Regions from separate parts of the Homo sapiens genome. Here regions 1 and 2 are each linked to region 3. The links are contacts of gene promoters, found by promoter capture Hi-C in human tissues and cell types (Jung and others, 2019). All regions are on one chromosome and are shown on one strand. Each heading gives the region's core, a stretch centred on a gene start or on the middle of the fragment in contact. The rest is flanking DNA. Distances are from core to core; before and after follow the strand shown.

Region 1 (3,855 bases), core at 984-3,483, 110 kb after region 3:
GGTTTGTCATATATGGCTTTTATCATTTTGAGGAGCTTTCCTTCTATTCTCACTTTATTAAGTGTTTTTTTTTTTTTCAAAGAAAAGGTGTCATTATTGGTATAGTGAGATTAGTATCTGTATATGTTACCTTTTCTATTTTTTTGTTTTTTGTTTTTTGTTTTTTTGAGACGGAGTCTCACTTTGTTGCCCAGGCTGGAGTACAGTGGCGCGATCTCAGCTCACTGCAAGCTCCGCCTCCCGAGTTCACGCCATTCTCCTGCCTCAGCCTCCCAAGTAGCTGGGACTACAGGCGCCTGCCACCACGCCTGGCTAATTTTTTGTATTTTTAGTAGAGACGGGGTTTCACCTTGTTAGCCAGGATGGTCTCTATCTCCTGACCTCGTGATCTGCCCACCTCGGCCTCCCAAAGTGCTGGGATTACAGGTGTGAGCCACCACGCCCTGCCCACCTTTTCTCTTTGTTGTCCTTGTTACTTTTTTTCTTCCATTGTGGTTTTAACTGAGCATTTTATGAGATGCTATTTTCTTTCTTCTCTTAGCATATTGATTATATTACTTTTTAAAAACTTTTTCATTAGTTGTCCTGGAGTTTGCAATATGCATTTACAACTAACCTAATTCCACTTTTGAATAACACTATTCTTCTTCATGGGTAATGCAAGTGCCTTAGAATATTCTCAGTTCCTCCCTCTTGACCCTTATAACACTGTTGTCATTCATTTTAGCTATGCACAAGCTGTAATAACCAAATACATTGTTGCTATTATTTTCATATATTTTTTATCAATTAAAAATAAGAAGGATAAAATATTTTACCTTCATTTATTCCTTTTCTAGTACATAATTCCTTTCTTTATGTGTATCTGAGTTTCTGAAGTATTTCAGAAAATAGGCTTGGCATTATTAGTAGTATGTGATCTCTAGTAATCACAATGAGACACCACTTCCCACCCACTAGTATGATATAACTAAAATCAAAAAGAAAATCACAAGTGTTAGCAAGGATGTGGAGAAACTGGAAACCTCATACACTGCTGGTGGCAATGAAGAATGGTGCAGCCACCATGGGAAACATTTTGGCAGTTCCTCAAAAAAAATAGAATTATCCGCCTGTAATCCCAGCACTTTGGGAGGCCGAGGCAGGCGGATCATGAGGTCAGGAGATTGAGACCATCCTGGCTAACATGGTGAAACCCTGTCTCTACTAAAGATACAAAAAATTAGCCAGGCATCGTGGCGGGTGCCTGTAGTCCCAGCTACTCAGGAGGCTGAGGCAGAAGAATGGCGTGAACCCAGGAGGCAGAGCTTGCAGTGAGCCAAGATCGCGCCACTGCACTCCAGCCTGGGCAACAGAGCAAGACTCCATCTCAAAAAAAAAAAAAAGAAAGAAAGAAAAAAAATAGAATTATCATATAACCCAGTAATTCCACTCCTAGGTATAGACTCAAAAGAAGCGAAAACAGGTGTTCAAACAAAAACTTGTACACGAGTATTTACTACAGCATTATTCACAATTGCCAAAACATAGAAACAATCTAAAAGTCCATCAACTGATTAATAAACACCAGGTGGCATATCACACAATAAACTATTCAGCCAGAAAAAGGAATCAAGTTTTGAGAGACATGCTACAACATAGAGGAATCGCGGGCCAGGCATGGTGGCTCATGCCTGTAATCCCAGCACTTTGGGAGGCCGAGGTGGGTGGATCACGAGGCCAGGAGTTCAAGACCAGCCTAACCAACATGGTGAAACCCCGTCTCTACTAAAAATACAAAAATGAGCCGGGCATGGTGGCACGCACCTGTAGTCCCAGCTACTCAGGAGGCTGAGGCAGGAGAATTGCTTGAACCTGGGAAGTGGAGGTTGCAGTGAGCTGAGATCGTGCTACTGCACTCCAGCCTGGGTGACAGAATGAGACTCTGTTTCAAAAAAAAAAATAGAGGAATTGCAAAACCATCATGCATGCCAAGTTCAAAAAGCCAGACTCAAAAGGTCACATGTTCTATGATTCCTTCATTATGAAACATCCAAAATAGGTAAATCCACAGGCACAGACAGCAGATTAGTGGTTGCCAGGAACTCAGGGAGAGGGGTATGGGGAGTGAGAGGTTAATAATCTGAGTTTCCTTTTTGGTATGATAAAAATGTTTTGGAAGGGTTAATTTTATGTTATATGAATTTTACTTCAATAAAATCTAGGGCCAGTCACAGTGGCTCACGCCTGTAATCCCAGCACTTTGGGAGACCAAGGCAGGAGGATCTCTTGAGCTCGGAAGTTCAAGACCACCATAGGAAACATAGCGAGATTTCATCTCTACTAAAACTAAAAAAAAAAATTAGCCAGAAGTGGTGGCACACGCCTGTAGTCCCAGCTACATGGGAGGTTGAGGTGGGAGGATCGCTTCAGCCCAGGAGATCAAAGCTACAGTAGCTGTGATCATGCCACTGCTTGAGCCAGGGAGACAGAGCCAGATCCTGTCTCTAAATACATACATACATACATACATACGTACATACATAATCTTCTGGAAAAAAAACTTTTTTTTGGAGTGCAGTGGTGTGATCAGAGCTCACTGTAGCCTCGAACTCCTGGGCTCAAGTGATCTTCCCACCTCAGATCCTGAGTAGCTGGGACTACAGACGTGTGGTTTTGTTGTAGAGATGGGGTTTTGCCATGTTACCAAGGTTGGTCTTGAACTCCTAGGCTCAAGCCATCCACCTGCCTCAGCCTCCCAAAGTGCCGGGATTAGAAGTGTGTACCACCATACCTGACTGAATGTTTTATTCTATAGCATCCTATTCTATATCATAGTTGAAATATTTTGCGTTACCTCTTTGAAGATGTAAGTTTTCTCCCTATAATGCCTATTTTTTTTCTGGTTGCTTTCTCCTATAATTGGATTTTCACAAATAATCTGATAATACTGGGTTGCTTGTTAACACTCAAGAGAGGGAGACAAATAAGCTAAGGGAAGCACTGGTGACATTGGGTGCTTTCCACTGTGGGCTCCTCTCCTGGGAATCTGGTGGGCTTTGTGTGAGAGAATACCCAATATTCAGATTTTTTTAAGGATTTTCTTTTTGGGCTGGTCTAATTTCCTATAAAAGACTAAAACTCTTTTGCTTTGAGGATGAGGCCACCATAGCTGCCAGCATTCTGGGAGCTGAGTAGCAGAAGAGAACACAGCTCTTTATTTTCTACTTTATTTTCTACTTTAAATGAAAGTTGCCACAAAATTAATTAAAAGGCAAAAATGCTAAAAGTTAATCTTTTGTATTGACTGTATAGCTCCAAATATTGTCAGCATACATTGTAAATTTTAAGAGGTTCCATTTTATAAAAGCTTATATGGCAATACCTGAGATAGGACTTGAACAAGCACTTAATATACACTCACTGACAAGATTAAGTACATTCATAGAGAAATACAAAGAAAATAGATCAGCAATAATATTTTACAGGACTATGAACCACTCCCCAGGAGAAGAAAGATGTTTGAAATAAGAAAGAGTAAGTAACCTTTACATCAAGGAAAATCTAATTTGTATATTTAGAAACCATGATAAAATTAACAGGGAAAACTTTACTTAAAATTATAGCCCCTTTCTTGATCTCCAATAGGATAGTGCAATTCCTTGGAATAACCAAGGAAACATCCCTGATATTCTTTCCATCCACAGTTAAGAGTAAAAACTGTCCAAATAACAAGGTCACCTTTCATACTTAACATATGGCATATAATTATCATTTCTAGTTTGTAGAATGGTGGTAATTCTACCATTTTAGCCATGGTCATTGAAAACTCTTAATGAAAATTCCTGCTGAAAGGAAAGTGACAGCAAGAGCTAA
Region 2 (3,399 bases), core at 327-2,826, 110 kb before region 3:
TTGTCTTTTTACATTTCTTCTGTGACGTTCCCATTGCTGTCCTATGATGCATAGGTTGTGTTCATTTTTCTTACTGGTTTATTTGTGACTAGTATTTCTTGAGCTGGTTAATGAGATGTACAGGCGTATAGTGGTGAACAAAGTAGAAATGGTCCTTGTCATTGTGGAACTCTTACAGGATATTAGGGAAGATGACATTAAGCAAATAGTTACTATTTCTTTTTTTTTTCTTTTTTGAGACAGGGTCTGGCTCTCTTGCCCAGGCTGGAGTGTGGTGGCATGACCACACCTCACTGCAGCCTCCACCCTTTGGGCTTAAGCCATCCTCCCACCTCAGCCTTCAAAGTATCTGGGACTACAGGCAGGCACCACCATGCCTGGCTAATTTTTCTATTTTTTGTAGAGATGGAGTTTCACCATGTTGCTCAGCCTGGTCTCAAACTTCTGAGCTTAAGCGACCTGCCCAGCTTGGCTTCCCAAAGTGCTGGGATTACAGGCGTGAGCCACCACACCCGGGCCAATAGTTACTATTTCCAAGTGTGCCAAGTGCTGTAAGGGAGAGCTCTTGGCGAGGTTTGAACAATATGGGGCCTAGGAAAATGGGACAAGGGAAGGCTTCCTGGGGAAATGATATCTGTAGAGACTGAGGGATGGGTGGGAGAAGGCTAGGTGGGGGTTAATGGGAGAAAATAAAGTAAGTTTCCCAAGGAGATGAAGGCTTCTGTAAAGACCACTGACAGGAGAGATCACTGAGTTTGAGGAACTGGAAGAAGGCTAGTGTGTCTGGAGTACAGTAATGAGAGCGAGAGCATAGTGTTAGATGATACTGGAGAGGTTAGCAGGAGCCAGATCTGATCTTTATCTTAAGGACAGTACAAAGCTATTGAAGAGTTTTAAAAGCAGGAGAGTGATACCGTTTTTGTTTTTCAAAAGATAAATCTCCTAGAGCACTCTGAGCATGAGATAAGTACTTTCACTTAGGAATACATAACTGTGTGATTGTCAGTGGCCTGGTTAAATATCTACCTCTTGGTAATTTTTAGTATCGCAAGAAAAAGATGATTAATTTAATAGGTGGTGCTCATAAAACTGAGACATCTGACAAAAAATAGAATTGGAACACCATTCTCATCATTTTCCAAAATCATTTCCAAATGAATTAAAAGCTTAAATATATAAAGTAAACAATAACAGTCTCAGAATAATATTTAAATGACTGTACAATCCAAGGGATGGAAAGACATTTTAAATCAAGATAAGAAACTCAGAAGCTGTAGTATCAGAAGCTCTAGTAGGGACATGTAAAACATTTTTTTTTTTTTTTTTTTGAGACAGAGTCTCACTCTGTCACCCAGGCTGGAGTGCAATGCCGTGATCTTGGCCCACTGCAACCTCCACCTCCCAGGTTCAAGCAATTCTCCCTGCCTCAGCCTCCTGAGTAGCTGGGATTACAGGCGCCCCGCCACCACACCTGGCTAATGTCTGTATTTTTGGTAGAGACGAGGTTTTGCCGTATTGGCCAGCCTGGTCTCGAACTCCCGACCTCAGGTGATCTGCCCGTCTTGGCCTCCCAAAGTGTTGGGATTACAGGTGTGAGCCACCGTGCCTGGCTATAAAAAATTTTAAAACTCTTTTTTTTTTTTTTTTTTTTTTTTTTTGGAGATGGAGTCTCGCTTTGTCACCAAGGCTGGAGTGCCGTGGTGCGATCTCGGCTCACTGCAAGCTCCACCTCCTGGGTTGACACTATTCTCCCACCTCAGCCTCCCGAGTAGCTGGGACTACAGGCGCCTACCACCATGCCTGGCTAATTTTGTTTTTGTATTTTTTAGTAGAGACGGGGTTTCACCGTGTTAGCCAGGATGGTCTCGATCTCCTGACCTTGTGATCTGCCCGCCTCGGCCACCCAAAGTGCTGGGATTCCAGGCGTGAGCCACTGCACCCGGCCGTAAAACTCGTTTTATAGCAAATAATACAATGAACAAATTGACATATATAAAAAGGAACAAACGATACATGTCATAACGTGAATTTCAAACTTTTTTTTTTTTGTGTGTGTGACGGAGTCTCGCTCTGTCGCCCAGGCTAGAGTGCAGTGGCGCGATCTCGGCTCACTGCAAGCTCTGCCTCCCAGGTTCCCCTCATTCTCCTGCCTTAGCCTCCTGAGTAGCTGGGACTACAGGCACCTGCCACCATACCCGGCTAATTTTTTGTATTTTTAGTAGAGATGGGGTTTCACTGTGTTAGCCAGGATGGTCTTGATCTCCTGACCTCGTGACCCGCCTGCCTCGGCCTCCCAAAGTGCTGGGATTACAGGCGTGAGCCACCGCGCCCGGCCTCAAACATTATTTTGAGAAAAATAAGCATGCCATATACTGCTACAGTATAATTCTGTTTTTGTGAATTTTGGGAAGAGTCAGAAGTAAGCTAGGGTGATAGAAATCAGAACAGAGGTTGACTCTTGGTCCCAGGGAGTGATAGGAAAGGGGCATGAGAGAACTTCTTGGGGTGATGGAATTGTTATGTATTTTGATTGGCAGGGTAGATACGTAGGTGTAAACATTTGTCACAACACATTGAACTGTACATTTATTTTTATTTTTAAATACTTATTTAGAAATGAGGTCTTACTCTGTTACTCAGGCTGGAGTGCATTTCTTCTGTGGTGCCATCATATCTCACTGCAGCCTCTAACTCCTGGGCTCAAGCGATCTTCCTGCCTTTGCCTCCTGAGTAGCTGTGATTACAGGCCTGTGCCACCATGCTCAGTGTATACCGTTATTAAAAAGAAAGAGCTATTTATATCTGGGTAAGAAAGAATGTTGGTATCAATGGAGACAGAGGCCTGGACAGATTAGTGAGATGTTTAGGAGATAGAATTGTTAGGACTTGGGCACTTGGACTGTAGGAGGTAAACAAGAGGGAATCAGAGTTGATAGCTCTTTGTCATGTTTTGAGATATTTTTCCCATTTTGTTTGGTATTTTTGTGGGGGGGTCTTACTTTAGACTTTTTTTCCTTTTTTTTTTTTTTTTTTTTTGAGATGGAGTCTTGCTCTGTTGCCCAGGCTGGAGTGCAATGGCACAGTCTCGGCTCACTACAACCTCCGCCTCTCGGATTCAAGTGATTCTCCTGCCTTAGCTTACCCAGTAGCTGGGATTACAGGCACCTGCTACCACACCCGGCTAATTATTGTATTTTTAGTAGAGATAGGGTTTCTTTTCTTTTTTTTTTTTGAGATGGAGTTTCGCTCTGTCACCCAGGCTGGAGTGCAGTGGCGCGATCTCGGCTCACTGCAAGCTCTGCCTCCCGGGTTCACGCCATTCTCCTGCCTCAGCCTCCCGCGTAGCTGGGACTACAGGCGCCCGCCACCATGCCTGGCTAATTTTTTGTATTTTTAGTA
Region 3 (3,831 bases), core at 141-2,640:
CAGGCCTCCGTGAGCCCCCGCCCCAGGAGAGTCATTCACCTCCACACCTCCTGCTGGCAACAGTGGACACATCGCACTTTTTCGTGACATAACGTTCCCAGCCTCTGTGCCTTTGCTTCTGCTCTTCCAGCCCCCTTGCTGTTCCTTGCCCAAATGCTTCTCACTCAGCTCAGATGATGTTCCCTCCCACGGACTCTCACCCCAGCCCCTCTAGCATCCTCTGCCTACCTGGTTACTACAGTGTTCACATTATTTTGAAATTTCCTGTTTATTTTGTCAGTCAATAAATATTTATTGAGCATCTACTATAAATGCTGTATGGAGGTTACAGCAGTGAACAAATCAAATTCTAGCTGTCAGGAGTTAAGGGACAGGTAGCAAACAAGATATAAACGCTCCAGAGAAAAAATAATGGAGGAAGACGACAGCATTGTGCTATTTTCCACAGCACATTGGAGCGTAGCCGTGTGGGTGGATGTAGGGGAAGGGGGCTCCAGGTGGAGAGAAGCAGGAGGGCCAGAGCACATCCTCAGGACTCGTAGGCCAGGACCGGAACCTTGTGTTTTCCTCGAATGAAATGGGAAGCAGGGACCCCATGCTGGTAAGCAGTCTGCCTGCAGGCGGGTGAGGGTGGCGGGAAGCGCCTGGTGAGAGGGGCCGAGAGTCTGTTCCACACCTGCCTCCTCCCCACAGCGTGGTGCAGAGCAGGAGCCCAGCGAACATTGATCAGACAGCGTGGGAACGGCTTTTCCAGACTCCTTCCTTCCCAAGCATCTCTGGTTTTCGGTGACCACACAGACCCTTGGCCCTCTTCTCAGCTATTCAACGAGAGAGCAGATTTATGGATTGGAGACCCCCATCAAAAGTCCCCAGCCTGTGGCTCCCCAGGGTTAGGATCTCTGACTCAATGGGGCCCTGTGCACACTGGGGGATGTGAAGGGCCCGGGGCAGCGGTGGCTGGGGGTGCGTTTCGGGGGAGCTGCATGCTCTCACTGTGGTTCGTGGCTGAGCCCTGCCGATCTTATGTAACCAGAGAACTCAGAGAACCGCATCTGGCAGCGGCAAGTCTGGAAAGCTGGAAGAGCTCCATGCCAGGCTGAATCAATCAGCAGCCCCCACGCCCAGGGCAAACATAGGCTCTTTTGAAGATTGGAGATGTGCCCTGCCCAAGCCTTCAGAAACATTCTCGCATTTCAGAAGTGAACAAAAGCAAACAGCCCGGGACCTAATCCCCAAAACCTGGGCTGTAGGGAGCAGAGGTCCAGAGGACGCCACACCCCACATTTGAATATTTTTTTTTCTTGTCACGCAAACTTCCTGGGCAGGAACTCCAAGGGCTCAATGGACGGGAAGCAGGGTCCTTAAATACGTCCCCTCTTGGCTCTTGCCGTTCCAGGAGCCCCAGTTACCGGGAGAGGCTGTGTCAAAGGTAATCCTCTTCCCTGCATTCCTTATTTTTTCTCTTGTCTAGGTGGAGTCTGCACTCAGAGCCGGGGCCCTAAGTGTCAAGAGTCCTACATCATCTCTCCAGGGGGTCCCTGCCTCTGGGACCATCATCTCTGGAGCATCCTCCTGGACCTCTGGCAGCTCTGCCATCCCCCAAACCAGGAGGCAGAGGTCCCAGGGATCCGCGGAGCAGGGACACCAAGGTGGCCGTGGAGTGAGAGGCCCTGATGGGCCGTCAGACTCCATGACTGGAAGGAAGGCAGCAGAGCCGAGTGCTAAAGGCATGAGCTGCTGACAGAGATGCATGTGGGTTCAAACCCTGACATGCCACCTGCTAACTGTGAGATCAGATACAGCATTAAACGTTTCTCAGTCTCCCTTTCCTCATCTGTAAAATGCACTCATAACCGTTTCTTCTTCATGGGCATCACTACAGAGCTTTTGTGAGGATGGAAGGCAATGAGGAGGGGAGGAGGTGTCACTGGGGGGCAAAGTCAACACTGGCACAGGTGAGAGGAGCGGGGTGCAGGAATGTGGGGTGTGAGGCGACGGGCTCTGGGGAGGCCCCCAGTGCATGCTGCAGCAGCTCCCATTTGGGTGCAGCTGCGACGTGATGGTGTCCACTCATCTCTGTGAAGTGGCACCTTTGTTAACCTGTCTCTCGGGGAAGTCCTGGGAAGGCCGTCCAGCCCAGAGACCACAGTTCCAAGTGGCGATGCTGGGGTGCAAGGCCAATCCCGTCCCACGCTCACCAGGCTCTTCCCACCTGGGCTGCCTGCCTTGGTTTGACCGTACAAGGCTCGGGAGAGAAGCGGGACCTTCTCTCCTGGGTTGTGGTCAGCAGGAGGGGCCTGGCCCATGGGACTGAGGAGGTCCCAGTGAGGGGGCTTTCCCAGCCTCCTATCAGAACATAGGGAGGGACCATGGAAGGGCCAGGCTTAGAGCACCCTCAATGCCAGCAGGTCCCTCCTCCCTGTGCAGAAAGCCTGGGATTAGGGGTCAGCCTATGGGGAGGGGAGGCAGAGGAAGGATTGGAAGCCACTCGCTGGAATGTAGGCAGGACCATATATCTATATACAATATAATTATATATTACATATGATATATAGGGTTTTTTAAAAAAATGGAAATACCCTATTTCTGCTGATGTTAAAAGTTATGCCGGGTCTGCAAGTGGGCTGAGTATCTCAGGAAGGGGAGTAAGGAACTGGTAACAGTGGCCCCTCTGTGGGGCAGCACCTGACAGCTGATGGAGCAGGGAGGAGGGAGGCAGACTTTTTTCTGTGCCCCTTTGCTATATTTTACATTTTGTTTCATGAGCATGTAGTGCCTATCTTAAAACGCACCAAAATTTAAAAAATACAAGCTCATTGCAAAAAGTCAAACATTGCATAAGAGGAAAACAGATCATCAATAATTCCACCCCCATCAGTTGTCTCATCGTGTCGGGGGCTACCGTTCTAGTCCTTTCTTGCATGTTAGAGCGTGCACGCCCACACACACACGCACACGCGCGCACACACACGCACATGCACACACACGCACGCACACACACACGCACATGCACACACACGCACACACACACATGCACACACACGCACACGCACACACACACACGCACACACACACATGCACACGCCTGGTACATCTGTTGTTCTGTAACTTGTTTTCTGTTTTTCTTTCTTTCTTTCTTTCTTTTTCTTTTTTTAGATGGAGTCTCGCTGAAAGTAATTATATTACTTACCCGAGGCCTTCAAATACCGCTTCCACTGACAGCCTCTTGACTTCTAGCAAATCTCACTAACCTTGCCTTACCTCCTACCACTAATCTAATAGGAGAACTCTGTGATTATGGCTCCATTCTCCCGGTCAAAGTGCTGGAGTGCAATGGCCCAATCTCGGCCCACTGCAACCTCCTCCTCTCAGCTTGGTTCAAGCAATTCTCCTGCCTCAGCCTCCCAAGTAGCTGGGACTACAGGTGCCTGCCACCACTCCCAGATAATTTTTGTATTTTTAGTAGAGACAGGGTTTCACCATGTTGGCCAGGCTGGTTTTGAACTTCTGACCTCAGGTGACCCGCCCACCTCAGCCTCCCAAAGTGTTTGCTAGGATTATAGGCGTGAGCCACCGCGCCCGGCCTGTAACCTGTTTTCTTTCTTATCCCCAGTGCCTGAGACACCCCTGGTGCAGAGAGAGCCCCTACAAACATGCTGAATAGCCTGCTCCACCTAATCCCTAAATACTGCACAGTAAACCCTTACGTGGGTGTGACAGGAGTCATTTAAACTGTCTCCTTTCTTTCGGATCTTTGGGATGTTTACAATACTTCCCTGTTATAGAAAACAGTGATGACTTTCTTATTCGTGAATGTTTAGGAAAGGCTGT

What was found. Contacts are between HindIII fragments. The study calls those that stand out against the background at their distance.
Region 1: a fragment that was not itself captured here is called in contact with the fragment with the promoter of ALDH3A1 in region 3 in 6 of the 25 tissues and cell types used here (adrenal gland, bladder, lymphoblastoid cells and 3 more).
Region 2: a fragment that was not itself captured here is called in contact with the fragment with the promoter of ALDH3A1 in region 3 in 7 of the 25 tissues and cell types used here (adrenal gland, aorta, bladder and 4 more).

The regions. Positions count from the first base shown.
Region 1 is chr17:19,633,234-19,637,088 of GRCh38, reverse strand. It overlaps the pseudogene SLC47A1P2. Among named protein-coding and RNA genes, the nearest start is that of ALDH3A2, 14 kb to the left of the region's middle. The HindIII fragment of the contact is 7,870 bases long and covers 1-3,855 here.
Region 2 is chr17:19,855,237-19,858,635 of GRCh38, reverse strand. The region is part of intron 3 of ULK2 (unc-51 like autophagy activating kinase 2); the gene reads left to right. Among named protein-coding and RNA genes, the nearest start is that of TRG-CCC3-1, 3.9 kb to the left of the region's middle. The HindIII fragment of the contact is 7,474 bases long and covers 1-3,399 here.
Region 3 is chr17:19,745,857-19,749,687 of GRCh38, reverse strand. ALDH3A1 (aldehyde dehydrogenase 3 family member A1) reads left to right here and starts at 1,390. Exons shown (of 11, transcript NM_000691.5): 1 at 1,390-1,429. RefSeq lists an enhancer at 3,714-3,831. The HindIII fragment of the contact is 25,713 bases long and covers 1-3,831 here.